3 separate regions of the Homo sapiens genome follow, and regions 1 and 3 are each linked to region 2. Evidence: promoter capture Hi-C in 16 types of primary human blood cells and fetal thymus (Javierre and others, 2016). All regions are on one chromosome and are shown on one strand. Each heading gives the region's core, a stretch centred on a gene start or on the middle of the fragment in contact. The rest is flanking DNA. Distances are from core to core; before and after follow the strand shown. Region 1 holds the start of FCRL4 (Fc receptor like 4). Region 2 holds the start of FCRL1 (Fc receptor like 1). Region 3 overlaps FCRL4 (Fc receptor like 4).

Evidence for each region. Contacts are between HindIII fragments. The CHiCAGO score rates a contact against its expected background, and 5 or more counts as called.
Region 1: a fragment that was not itself captured here is called in contact with the fragment with the promoter of FCRL1 in region 2 in 2 of 17 cell types (naive B cells and total B cells); the score reaches 6.4 in naive B cells.
Region 3: a fragment that was not itself captured here is called in contact with the fragment with the promoter of FCRL1 in region 2 in 5 of 17 cell types (total B cells, naive B cells, M0 macrophages and 2 more); the score reaches 16.7 in total B cells.

Annotation. Positions count from the first base shown.
Region 1 is chr1:157,594,733-157,599,441 of GRCh38, forward strand. It overlaps FCRL4 (Fc receptor like 4), which reads right to left and starts at 3,353. Exons shown (of 12, transcript NM_031282.3): 1 at 3,182-3,353; 2 at 1,596-1,616. The coding sequence starts at 3,212. The HindIII fragment of the contact is 3,353 bases long and covers 1-3,319 here.
Region 2 is chr1:157,818,866-157,823,716 of GRCh38, forward strand. FCRL1 (Fc receptor like 1) reads right to left here and starts at 1,255. Exons shown (of 11, transcript NM_052938.5): 1 at 1,142-1,255. The coding sequence starts at 1,172. The HindIII fragment of the contact is 2,741 bases long and covers 1-2,367 here.
Region 3 is chr1:157,576,549-157,580,987 of GRCh38, forward strand. FCRL4 (Fc receptor like 4) reads right to left here. Exons shown (of 12, transcript NM_031282.3): 8 at 3,773-3,800; 9 at 2,222-2,304; 10 at 1,926-1,994. Among named protein-coding and RNA genes, the nearest start is that of FCRL4, 19 kb to the right of the region's middle. The HindIII fragment of the contact is 2,222 bases long and covers 1,398-3,619 here.

The DNA.
Region 1 (4,709 bases), core at 393-2,892, 220 kb before region 2:
GAAGAACTTCCCAAATAGATCTTTTAGTTACATCTAAATGTGAAGAAAATGCCCTTCCTCTGTTTGAGGGGAAAAAGAAAATTGTAAAATAACCCAACTGCATGTTTTACATGAAGAAGCTAAATGTTCTGTTTGGTAAGGTGAAACATCTCTGTGTCTCTGCAGAATTTATTTTATTTTATTTTTCAGATAGAGTCTTACTCTTGCCCAGGCTGGACTGCAGTGGCCTGATCTCAGCTCATTGCAACCTCCACCTCCTGGGTTCAAGTGATTCTCCTGCCCCAGCCTCCTGAGTAACTGGGATTACAGGCATGTGCCACCACAACCGGCTAATTTTTTGTATTTTCAGTAGAGATGAGGTTTCACCATGTTGTCCAGGCTGGTCTTGAGCTCCTGACGTCAAGTGATCCACCCACCTCAGCCTCCCGAAGTGCTGGGATTACAGGCATGAGCCACTGTGCCCAGCCTCTGCAGACACTTTTTAAAAAGAAAATTCTGTCTTTAAAGGTTTGGACAGAATACTCTATGTCATCAGTGGGAATGGGGCTGTGTTTCTGCTGAAGAGAATAGAAAACCCTACCAGCTATATTCCTGGGAAGCACCTGGATGCAGGGCCATTGGGACTTAGGCAATAGGTCTTCTACTGGAGGGAAGGAGAGTTGATTTCCTTTGATGTATGCAACTAGACTCTTCTTTGCTCTGAGGAAGCTGCCCCTGCTATGTGCAGGTGGCCCTATGGCCAGGAAGGGACATAACTTTTCATGGCCTTCGTGTGTTTGAGACTGAGTTGATGGGCTCTGAGGTTAACCACATCCCTAGCTGCAGTTAATTCAAGGCACTTTTTGTATTTCATTTCCCCATTCTAGAACCATTAGCAAAGTCTGCCAAGTTATAATCTTGTCTCAGGAAGGGTGTGTGGGAAATAGTCTGTGTCCAAGGCACCGAGGAGGGGAAGAACAGCAGAGTTAGGAGCTGCAAGAGACAGTGCACCTCAAGGGGGCCAAGGCCCTTGCTGGCTCCAGCAGCTCCTAGGGTGCTCTATAGGAATGGCCAAAACACCTGTGAGGCAGCTGCCTATAGAGGATGGGACTTTTTGCTGACCAGTAGGATAGATGGAGACTCAGAGTCATCATAATTTGAGCTATTAACAGAGAAGTGTGTCTCCATGGGATGCAGAAGTTGGGGATAAATTTGTTACACATGGTTAGTGGAAAAGCTGCTGGAGCCCCAGCCTCCCCCTCTGAAGTATTGGCTTATTTCTACCCTTTTCCTCTTGGGATGCTATGCATTCCATCAGGCTTGGCTAGAATCCCACATCAGGCGGGGTGACAGCTCCTCTTCCTGTGGACGCTGTGACACATATCCCAGGCCCTGCCATGTTTAGCCAGCACAATGGCAGTTTTGGTTTAAGAGAGTCACCCCCAAATAGCCTGGTTCTTAGGGTCAGAGTCACCACACGAGCTGATGTCTCTACATCCCTGCAGCACTCAGGAAAAGGATGAAATGGACAACAGGGACTCTTGTAAGTATTTGAGATAAAATATAGTTATTAGGGTATCTAGAGACATAAAGGAGCAAAGAAAATAAGGACTTACCAGATTGTCCACAGACTGGAGCTGAAAGAGAGTAAAGAGCCAGCCATCAGCGTAGGCGAAGAGTCCCGAACTATTCACCCTGAGAGCCCATACACTCATATGCTACTTCCAACCAAGAGGAAGAGAAACACGTTCCATTCCATCCATCCCAGGGAAGCGGGGAAACACAGTGGCCAGACGCTCAGGCTGTGGACTCAGACAGTCTGGTTTGAATTTTAGCTGTATGACCCAGGGCAAACCACATGAACTTTCAAGTCTCAGTTTTCTCATTTGAAAAATGAGGCTCATGAAAGCGACCTCATAGTAATACTGTAATGAGTTAGATCAGTAAGGTTTCAATTAATGGCTGCTGTCATTAATTTTTTAGTATGGGGCTGCTGCTGATTCCTCTTCTCTTGACTCAGAACACTTATTATCATAGCTAATTTGGAACTCAAAATGAGACAGACAGTAGAGGGTAGTAGTTAAAAGCCTAGTTTCCAAAGTTAGATTATGGGTTCGAATCCTGACTCTGCCACTGTACTAGCTGCATAAACCTCAGGGACAAGACCAACATCTTTGTGCCTTCATTTCCTCATTTGTAAATGGGAGTTATAAAAGTTCCACCTGATCAAATGTTAGAGAATTGGATACATTTATACATGGGGTGCCCTTAGAAAAGTGGGATGTAGCCAGGGCTTAGCACAAATTAACTGACATCCTCACACATTATCCTGTAACTATTTGTGTAATATTTTTCTCATATTGTCGAGTCAGATGTTCTTGCATGTGTACGTTGAGGTTCTATTGAGAATGTCACCTCTTGAGGGCAGAATCTGTGTCCTTCAGGTCTCTGCATCCTCTGTGGTGCCCAGCAGTGTGGCATGCCAAGTATACCCATCCACTCACTCCTTAGTTCCTATCATGTGCCAATCACACTAATAGGTCTTCCCTTAGTTGGGGTCTGGGGATCAGGTGGGAACTAGACAAATACGCTTAATAAATATTTAATGAACAAAAGACTGACTGTTCTTTAATTCCCTAGTTTGAGCAACTAGGAAATCCGTGCCTCATTTGGACAAACACTGACAAGTGGTACAAAAGCAGGAAGAAAAAAATCAAAGGGAAATCATCTTATCTCTTCTCTTCTCATGCTCTTTGCAAACATCAGAACAGGTTTGAACTTAGAATACAGAGAAGGAAATAACTATTCTCAGCAGGTGATCCTTTCTACCTGAGTTCACAATCAGGACTTTATCCTTCACAAATAACTCAGTCCATCTTTTCCTCTGGGTCCTCATGCTCTGTGACGTAGGGACTGAACCTAGCCATAGGTTTCTTTTTGCATAAACAAAATAAGTCCATTTGGGGGTAAAATGATTTTCCATAGGCAATTCATAGCAAAAATAGATGAGAAATACATCTTTGGAAATCAATTATTATCATTTTCCCCTTCTACCAGTAAATCATTATCTTTCCTTTTTGTTCATTTTCTGCTGTTCTAAAATGGGAGTAAAAATCCATGATTGCAGCAGCAGAAAAGAGGGCTTTTGCTCATGGTGAGGCTCAGCTTTGCAGCAAGCAAAGGTCTCCTCCCCATCACTTACCAAAGGCCAGCAAGGACGCCCACAGCAGCATGGAAGCCTGCTCCAGGATTGGAGAAGGAGTTCTGAGGAGACAAGCCAGGTCAGCCCAGATTGCCAAAGCAGCACTTGCCTACACCAGCACCAGCAGTGAGCTCAGTAAGCTTCTTCTCTGCATAAAGCTGATTGAGATAATGAAGTGAAAGGGGGAAGTAGAGGAATCTTTCTGAAAACACCAAACAGCAATGTGGACCAGTGTGAGAGAATCCAGACCACAAAAATCAAAATTTAATAGAATTAAGTACTGCTGTGACATCCTGGGGTGAATCACTTCTCAAGGCTAAAGCTACTCTAGTTTCAGAACTCTCTAGGCTCTGTCTTTCAAGGAAATCACAACCTATTCTCTCTGCTACTAGAGATGAGGTGAGATTGCAGGCCTATTGAAATCCACATAATCTAAGGATGTCCCTGAATATCCCCAGAGATGAAGAATTTCTCATTCAACACAGAAAAGGCCTCCTCTGACCGCTGATACCTCTACTGGAACACCTCCAGCAGGCCGTCTGTAGACCTGATGAAACATCTCAATCACAAGACAACTCTCACCTTGTCTGATATATATGAAAATATCCTGACTCATCAGTCCAGGGGGAAACCACAACTTTTGATCTGAGTAGAAGGCAAGCTGAGGAGTAAATTATAGCCCCATCATGCTCTTCCTAGATAATAGGCCATAACATTTTTACTTAATGTCCTAGAATCCAAAATTTGCTACAGGAATGTCTTGGCAAATATATATTGATTGAAATACATATGCCTGGTATCTGGTGGCAGAGAGAAGAAGTTGTGATTTCCTTGAAAGACAAGAGGCTAGAGAGTTCTGAAAATATGATGGCTTTAGCCTTGAGAAGCGATTCACGTCAGGAAGTCAGAGTGGGTATTTAAATAATTCTATTAAATTTTGATTTTTGCCATTTGGATTCTTTCACACTGGGCAACATGCTGTTTGGTGTTTTGAGAAACACCTAATGCTCTCCCTACCCATAACAAACCTGCACACTCTGCTCATGTATCCCAGAACTTAAAAAAAAAATTAAGAAAAAAATGGAAAAATCCGTAGTGACGTTTTTTGGTACGTATAATATTTTGGTATGTATAACTCTTTAAAACTTTTTTATGCTATTATCTTGTGTATATGTATGTGTATATATATATATATATATATATATATATATATATATATATATAAAATGTTAATGGCAAAAAAAAAGAAACACCATGGTGCTTCAGGTATGGTGCCAGGTGCTGGAAGTACAGTGTTAATCAAGACTTGGAAAGCTTTCATTCTGGTGGAGAAGACAGCAAGTCAACAGGAAATTACATAGAAGTGAATTGTATGTAATTTCTGAGAGTCCACTAAGAGGGAAATCTGACCCAGTTCTGGGGATGCATAAGAGGCTTCCCTGAGGAAGTAACATCCAAGCTGAAAGAATATCATTCTAGGACTGAGAGATGAGCATGCACTAAGATGGAAGGCAGTTATCGTGACCAT
Region 2 (4,851 bases), core at 5-2,504:
TTGTATACTTATGGGAATAATTTAGAATGAAGAAACATATTGATGATGGAGCAAACTTTTTGAGAAAGTAAGAGGGTCATGGGCCTAATGCACAAGTGGAGAGTCTTGTCATCAACAAGATGAGGGGCAATATATTCGTGGTAGGGGAAGAGAAGGCAGTGTATGTGAATGCAGAGGTGAGTAGGTCAACAGCAACAGAAAGATGAGAGAGTTTTCTTCTGACTGCTTTTATTTTCTCAATGAAATATGAAGCAAGATTACACAATGAGAGTGAACAGAGAAGTATGAGGTGACAGGATAAGGTATGCAATAGTGATAATGGAGCAACATGGACTGTGAACATGTAGGATAATTGCCTGGCATTGCTGTTGGCTACCTGAGATTTGGGGGTCCTACACTTAAAAGGGGATAAGTCATCAGGGTTGTGCATTTAAAAAAAAATCCCATTCAGCTGTTTATGTCCAGGAGTGAAGCATGCAGAAGGGCGTGTAAACCAGGAGAGTGCTATGGGGGAAGAGAGATGAAGGTGTGCTCGAGGGAGTGTTGTGGTGGTGAGCTGCAGAATCTGAGCTGAGCACCATGAGAAGTGAGCACATGAAGTGTAGTTACTGATAATGGAAAAGTAGCCCTGGGGTAATTGAAGTCATGTTGGAAATAGAGTGCAGGAGAAAGTGAGCTAGAAACACAACTTAGTGGGGGTGGGGGATGTATGCTGAAAACAAAGGAGTGATGATAAGTTCTAAGGTTTGACTGTGGGAATGGGGAGTCAGAGAGGGATAAAAGGAAATAACGTTGGTAGTAAGAAGGGCAAGGAATTCAGAGGCCTATTTATTATACAGATTTTTCTTTTGGCAGCTGTTGAAAACACTGAGAACAAAGACAATTATTGATGGAAAGGAAGACAGACAGTGAACACTTCCTATGAGATAAAAACTGAAATGATAGTTTTCTTGAAAACTCTGGCTTTTTGAAATATCTACAACTTTTTGCCTGACTCTGAGCCCTCCGTGGAAGTGGAGATCTGAGCACCCCTGAGCATTACCTGACAGAACCTTAGTCCTAAGAAGTCCTTACAGCCCTTCAGGAAGCAGAGCCCAAGCATGATTGCATCCCATGCCCTGCTCTGAGTTGCCCAACTCACCACAGATCAACAGCAACAGCCTCGGCAGCATGAGGACCAGGTCAGGGATGGTACCTAGAGATGCCTCTCATCAAAAAAAGAATGCACCTCAGAGTCGAGCAGCAGCAGCTCATCAGAGGTTTGAGGAAGTTGATATCGGAAGTTACCCTTCAGCAGAAGTAGAAGGAAGAAGAACCCTCTAGTGACCAGTCTCCATTTCCTTTTCTATGAAGTCTGAGAAAATTAAAGATGCTCCTTTTTAAATATAGTTTGATTCAGTTCCACAAGCTGCAGATAGTACACATCAATATTTGAGGGACTTTTTCAAGAATTCAGGTATTTCAAAGGAAGTTTTCTAAAGGCAGTTTCCTACTTTGATGAGTCTCATCAGGTTATGGTCCTGCTGAAATTCATCTTTGATACATCTACAATACTTTTCACCTTTGATAGGGATGTCTCCTGGATTGTTTCTAATTGGCACATTCTTCTTGCTCAGCAATATAGTCCCACTATGCAAACTTTCTCTAGTATAGTCATATTATGCAAACATGTCATTAAATCAGGGACTGATGGGGCTGTCACCCCGGTTATGTGTAGTGTCTGACCCTTGCTGCATATGATGACTTATGTACAGGGTCAACCTATTCATACAGATATACGCTTTGATATTCAAACTTTCAGTGTACCAGTAAATGAGCATGAAATCACTGAAAAATAAAATCACGGCAAATTACAATCTGGGGGATATTTGAAAATGAAATACAGAAAAGAAGTATATGCAAATTAGCTTCAGGGCACTTGAGAAGGGTTCACCATTAGTACTAACTCTGGCATTTGTAAAATTGCCCCTCTTTTCCCTCAAAATCAGGGCACCTATAATCTCTCCCATTGCTACCTTTAGCACATTAGGGATACCAGTTCTAGGCAAGTGAAGCCTAGATTAGGGATTGGAGGAGAATAAGCTATCTTAATTTTCAACATTTCTTAAATCCGTGAGTGTCTAGGATTAAGAATAACTAGAATGTGTGGAAAGTAACCTATTAGGGGAAAGATGCTGTCAGGCAATGATGTCTAAGTCCAGGTATCCAGCTCAATGAGTATGACTGAGAAAAGAAACTATTCAGTGATACGCAAAACCAGAGGGAAAAGGGAGCAATGTTGGTAACCAGGCTAACAGCGAAAGTGCTGAAAACGAATAGGTATTCCATAGCTTTATTTATTGGCTTAGGAAAGCCTGTGTGGGGATAAGCTTGTTTAGTGTAAAGTTTCAGGACCAATGCAAAAAAATCTCCTGAATGAGAATGTAGAGCCCTTTAAATCCAGGGTGTAAAGCTGTTTTTGCATACACTCTGCTGTTTCATCTCTCTCTTTTTCTTTTAATCTGTTGGTTTTTTTAATGTTTTAATTGACACATTGTAATTGTACATATTTATGGGGCACAGTTTGACATTGCAATATAATACATATATATGTTGTACAGTGATGATCAAATCAGGGTGGTTGGCATATCCATTGTCTCGTGCAGTTTTCATTTCTATGTGGTGAGAACATTCAAAAGCCTCTTTCCTAGCTATTTTGTAATATATAATACCTTACTAGTAACCATAGTTACCCTACTGTGCAATAAAACACCAAACCTTATTCCTCCTATCGAATTGGCACCTTGTACCTGTTGACCAATCTTTCCCTCTCTTCCCTCCTCATTCCCTCCTCAGTCTCTGATAGATGCTATTCTATGCTATACTTCCATAATATCAACTTCTTATTTTTTTCAGATTCCACATATAAGTAAGTTCATGTGGTATTTGTCTTTCTGTGTCTGGCTTGGTTCACTTAACATGATGTCCTCCAGCTTCATCATGTTGTCACAAATGACAGGATTTCATTTTGTATGGCTGAATGGTATTCCGTTGTATATATACACCACATTTTCTTTATGGATTCATCTGTTGTTGGGGTCTTAGGTTGATTCTCATCACATCTCTTCCTGTGTGTCCTGCTCCAGTGCCTTCACAAGATGTTCAGATTAAAATGTGTTTCCTCCTCCACAGATATAAAGGCTATAACATTTTATTTGTTAAGCTCTCTCACACTTTTATTTTTATAATGTGATAGTTCATGCATGCATACAAAAAAGTAACATGAATATAAATTATGAAATACTACGATGAAATGAAAAGCCATGAGCCTATCCCCAGACTGTTTTAAGAACTTGAACATAAGGCGGGCGGATCACGAGGTCAGGAGATCGAGACCATCCTGGCTAACACAGTGAAACCCCGTCTCTACTAAAAAACACAAAAAATTAGCCGGGCGTGGTGGCGGGCGCCTGTAGTCCCAGCTGCGCGGGAGGCTGAGGCAGGAGAATGGCGTGAACCCGGGAGGCGGAGCTTGCAGTGAGCCGAGATCGCGCCACTGCACTCCAGCCTGGGTGACAGAGCGAGACTCCGTCTCAAAAAAAAAAAAAAAAAAAAAAAAAAAAAAAAAGAACTTGAACATAACATGATACTATTACATCTACTTGAGTGTGCCTTTTCTAACCCACTCCTCGTGTACTCTCCAGAAGTAATTACCACTCTGAATATTTTGTTTATAGTTCTCTTTCTTAAAAATCAGCTTATCGAGTTATAATTAATATACATTGAAATGAACCCATCATAAGTATATGATTCAATGATTTTTGACAAACATACACACTGATGTAAAAGCAATCACTGTCATGATCTAGAACATTTCCATCATCTCAATGGGTTTCCTTGTGTGCCTTCCCAGTCACCCCAAACCTCCCAGAACCAGGTAACTCTCCATCTGCTTTCTATAGATTTGATTTGCCTTTTCTAGAATTTCCTACAAATTGAAACATATAATATTTACTCTTTTGTTTCTAAGTTCTTTCCTTTTGCATAATATTTTTGAGATTCATCCATGTAGTATGAATAAAGCTGCTATAAACATTCATGTACAAAATTTTGGGTGACTATTCCAGGGTGGAATTATTGAATGAGAATATGCTTATGTTTTCAGGAAACTTAAATTACTTCCCTACTTGATTTTTACTATTTTACATTCCCACCAGCAGTCTGAATTCCAGTTTCTCCATATCCTCTCCAACTCCTTTTTTAAAGCCAATTCAATGCATGTGTAGAGATATCTTATGAGTTTAATTTGCATTTCTTGGCGGCCAATGAAGCTAAACATTTCTCATGTGTTTATTAGCCCTTTGTATATTTTCTTCCTTGAAATGTCTCTTCCTGTTATTTTCCTATTTATTCATAAGGCTGCTTGTCCAATTTTTGTCAAAAAACAAAAACAAAAAAGAGATCAGAATTATCTAATTTTGGTGAAGCCCAATTTATCTTTTTTTTCTTGCATGGTTAATGCTTTTTTTTTTTTTTTTTTTTTTTGAGATAAGGTCTCACTTTGTGACCCAGGCTGGAGTGCAGTGGTATGATCATGTCTTTCTACAGCCTCAACCTCCCAAGCTCAAGCAATCCTCCTGCCTTAGCCTTCTGAGTGGCTGGGACTACAGGAGCGCACTATCATACCTGGCTAATTTTTTAATTATTATCTTTAATAGAGACAACATTGTGTGTAGTAAAGACAAATCTATATCCAGAGTAAGTGTCTATTCCAGTAAGGACAAAACACTACCGCTTCCATGATGGAAGTGGCCCCTTTTAATCAACCTGCCACCTGGTAGCTGGCTGATTACTCTGGGAAGTAGTGTCATA
Region 3 (4,439 bases), core at 1,259-3,758, 240 kb before region 2:
ATTCAAGTGTCTGAAATGTAACTAGTCCATCAACAGAATGCTTGGCTTAAATGGTGTTTTGATAAATATGTCAAGGAAAGAGTATGAAGAAAAGCAAAATTATCAAGACAGCTTTATAAGATAAGATGTACTCAATCAACCCAAGAAAGGTAGTGGCCATTCTAATGCTGCCATTCAAAGGGGATCCTGATTAATGGAGGTGGCTCAGGGAACAAAGTGAAAGACAAAACAAGTGATCAGGTGATATATGTTGGTCAAATATAGTAATAGGCTGTGCATGCAGAAAATATAGCAAGACAGAAGACTTGGTCTTAGCTTTGTCCTTTACTGGCTTTGTGACCTTGAGAAAGTCCTTCTCTGAGTCTTATGTGTAATACTTCATTTTCATAGAACACCTTCAGCATCAGGTTACAACTAAAATTCCTAGATTTTAACTTCCCAAGTGAGGTGCCATGGGTGGATTTATACAAGAAATAGAGAGAATTGCTTGTTTCCTTGACTCTAAGAACCCAGGTTAATCAACCAAAGCAAGGAAGTGTGGGGAGGAAAAAAATAAGAAGATTGGTTGAAGCGATGTCTTTAGAAAGATGGATCAGTTTATGTCCAATGTGTCTCTGCTTTAGCTTTCTGAGGTGAGAGTAGCAGGTTATAGCCCCCAGCCTGGTGAAGGAGATCTCAGAAATTCCTCTTGAACTTCTGAAGTGATTTTGAAGTGATTTCCCTGATACTGGGATATAGAGCTCCCACCTCAGAAAGCCAAAGTGGACCATAGGTTGCAGTTACCTAGAGAGGTATTTTTCTAACAAAAGATCTCAATTTGTTAGTGGGTCTTGAAATGGGGTCTGAATAGGATTAAAGAAGTGAAGTAGAACTTCAAGAAACAATTCAGCTTATTGTGGCCAAAACGGACTAACAGGGACTGGATTTATCTTCCCATTTTAAACAATGAGAAAAAAGGACAAAACAGTGGTTTTCAGATATTGCACCAGTTTACCACTAAGCTGTGCATGGACTTGGGAGTTTAGAAAGAGCCTGGCTTCTGGCTTGAGGCCTTGCTGACTTGAAGTGACAGAGACCAACAGTTCTGTTTTACTGAAGCAGCTAGAATTTGTAGGACAGTACCAGAGAGACAGGAGGAAAACAGATCGAAAGCTCCAGAAGTCTGCAGAGAGTTCTCCTCAGGTCTTAGGCTGAATACTGATAGGCATATTTGTAAGATGAAAGTATCTTAGGCCGGGGTAAGAACTACCAGAAAAGAACAGGCAGAATAATACCAGAAGCTGATGCAGATTTTGTAATTAATGGACCATCTGATGTAGAGTCCCCAGAAATGCATTGCTTTACTATCAGGCTAGATTAACCCTACTCTAAAGGTTGCTCGAGACTTACCCTAACAAAGCTTAAATAAAAGCAAGCCTCAAAAGGATCCAACTCATTCCAAATAACTTACCTTGCTCCAATATAAAATTTAAAATCTGACAGTAATTAGAGGAATATAATACTGTAAAAATCACATTTTCTAGCACTTAATTAAAATGCCATGCATATACATATATGTGTATGTATACATATATATATGTATATATATTCTCAGCACAATGCTTACCACATAGTAGACATTTTACAAACATTTATTCATTCAGACCTAAGGGAGACCTTAGTACATACACTATAATGATCACAATATCTATCAGAAGGATGCTTAATTTTCATCCTGATCATCAGCAAAAGTATACTGTGTGTATTTCAGTGCCTATCTTCCCTCCTTAGAATCTAAGCTCTCCACTGCAGGGATTTTTGTCTGCCTTGTTTACTGATTGACTTCCCATACTTACAAGAATACCTAGCACATAGGAGGTGCTCAGTAAATATTTGTTGAATGAATGAATATAGTTTGCAGCCAGAATCTCTTCCCAAAGACGTACCTTCCTCTTCTTCTCCCAGCTGAGTAGTCTGGATCTCAGAGTATACCAAATCTCCCTTTTTGGGGTGTACTGGAAAGAAAAGACATTTTCAAGGCTGTTCCTGTTAGTATTAAAGTGCTACAGATGCCTCTTCCTAAGCATCATCTCCACTCTTCTTGGACACATAATGGAACAATTATCTGGGAATATCTGGATTTGGGACACTTTAGGGAGTCCAGGGGCATTTCCCAGGGCTGAAAGCGCATTATCTTTCCATGGCTGAGGCCAGGAACAGCTTCCTAGAAGGGAATCCTCACCATCAACATACAACGACTGAAGCTCCACCTGGGCAGGGCAGATGGAATGGGAGGACTCTCCTGGGCCTGGAGCGGGAGGGAGCCTGTGAGACACAGAAACACATAATAATCCCTGGAACACTGTAACATGCGGGAGAGTGAGATACCCAGGGAGAGCGGCAGAGGAGAAAGAGGATTTGGAGAAAGTCAGCAGCCAGTAGGGAACTGGAAAGCCTGAATGGTTTAATCAGAGTTTCAATAGGTCTATATAGAGTGAGACTGTTCTTTTTAAAAAAACCCTGGAGCTGTGGTATGGACAGGCTGCCTGGAAACAAGGTTAGGGAGTCTCTGACATCATCGTAACAATCATCGTCTCATAGTCAGAATGATTACTCTTGTTTGGTTAAAAAATACTGGCTTTCCAGCCTGGGCAACATAGTGAGACCTTGTCTCTACACAGAATAAAATAAAGTTGGCCAGGCATGGTGACATGCACCTGTAGTCCTAGATACTTGGGAGGCTGAGGTGGGAGGATTGCTTAAGCCTGGCAGGTCAAGACTGCAGGAAACTGAGATGATGCCATTGCACTCCAGCCTGGGTGACAGAGCCAGATCCTGTCTCAAATATATACATAATGGCTTCTTCATCATCAGGAAGTAGTGATTAAATGTCTTTACTTTACTGTTGGCCTGGTGCAGTGGCTCACACCTGTAATCCCAGCACTTTGGGAGGCCGAGGCGGGCAGATCACTTGAAGCCAGGAGTTTGAGACCAGCCCAGCCAACATTGTGAAACCTGGTCTCTACTAAAAATACAAAAATTAGCTAGATGTGGTGGCTCATGCCTGTAATCCCAGCTACTTTGGAAGCTGAGGCACAAGACTCACTTGAACCTGGGAGGCGGAGGTTGCCATGAGCTAAGATCGTGCCACTGCACTCCAGCCTGGGTGACAATACATACATACATACATACATACATACATACATACATACATACATACATAAAATGTCTTTACATTGTAATGTCTGTACAATCCAAGAAGGAATTAGACATAATCCACACTCTTATTCCTTACCTAAGACTGAGACACTGACATAGAAGGAGGAAGATGACAGTATTTTCCAAATGGAAGTTAAGCACATAACGTTTAATGAGTATATATGCGTGTATGGTGCAAAAAGAAGATTATTAGAAACATAGAGTTCTCTGGAAAACCTAGAACATTTGTAGAAAATCTAGACTCTAGTCATTGTATGCATAATTATAGTAACACATTGTCTAACTTAATTATAGTACAAGAAATATTCTGTACTTTATAACCTTTGGTATTATCCATTTAGATGAGTAGGTTAAGATCAAATAAGAAATCTATTATTTTGCATGTATTGCAAACTATTAGCTGACAAGCAAAGTTCTAGGAAGCTTCATTTTTGACAAATTCATGGAGTGTGAAAATGGAAGTATCTAGCCACAGGGCCAAAGAGGTATAACTTGACCTAATTTCATAACCCCACAGTTTTGCATATTGTGTACTCGGGAAACTAAAAAGGAATGGCAGAAACTGAGGTCTCACCTGGTTTCGTCTCCCAAGAAACCAACTCCTGCAAAATAAAGCAAAGACGCATTTTTGTCAGCAGAGGGAGCTCTTTCTCAATGACTTCATGTAACAGGAGCTATCTAAGAGAGGTAATCAAGACAGTCAATTCAAACACCTGCCCAGTCCTGGGTTTTCATGAAAATGAGGTGAAAAAAAGATTGTACAAAGCATATAACTTTTTGAGGCCAGGACTGCACACTCCTGAGTTAAGTATGTAATTGTCTGAGAATTTATTAAGACTCAAGTCTGTGTTGAAATCCCTCAGGAAACATTACATATAACAAAAGTGTCACTTGGAGAGTAGTGAGCTGTGGGTGAACTTCGAGGAACATCTGTGGCCATGCCCAGAGGAGCACTGGGCTCTGACTCAGCCCCACTAAGGAGAATTGGTCAGAGGTCCAAAGCTCCCTACCTCCAGTTCAATGCAGGACACACAGAAGGTGCTGTCAGGAATCTGGAAAGTTGAATTGAATTAAGAGACAGAGTTGAAGGATGTGGGTAATTATTCTAGAGCTGAAAAAGGTTCTGCTCCTGTCTTCTACACCAGGTTTCTTGGCATCTAAAGCCAGCCTGAGGTGGGCTGAGGCAAGAAGTCTTTGGAAGCACGCAGCAAACAGTGCCTGGGACAGACCATCTCCAAGAG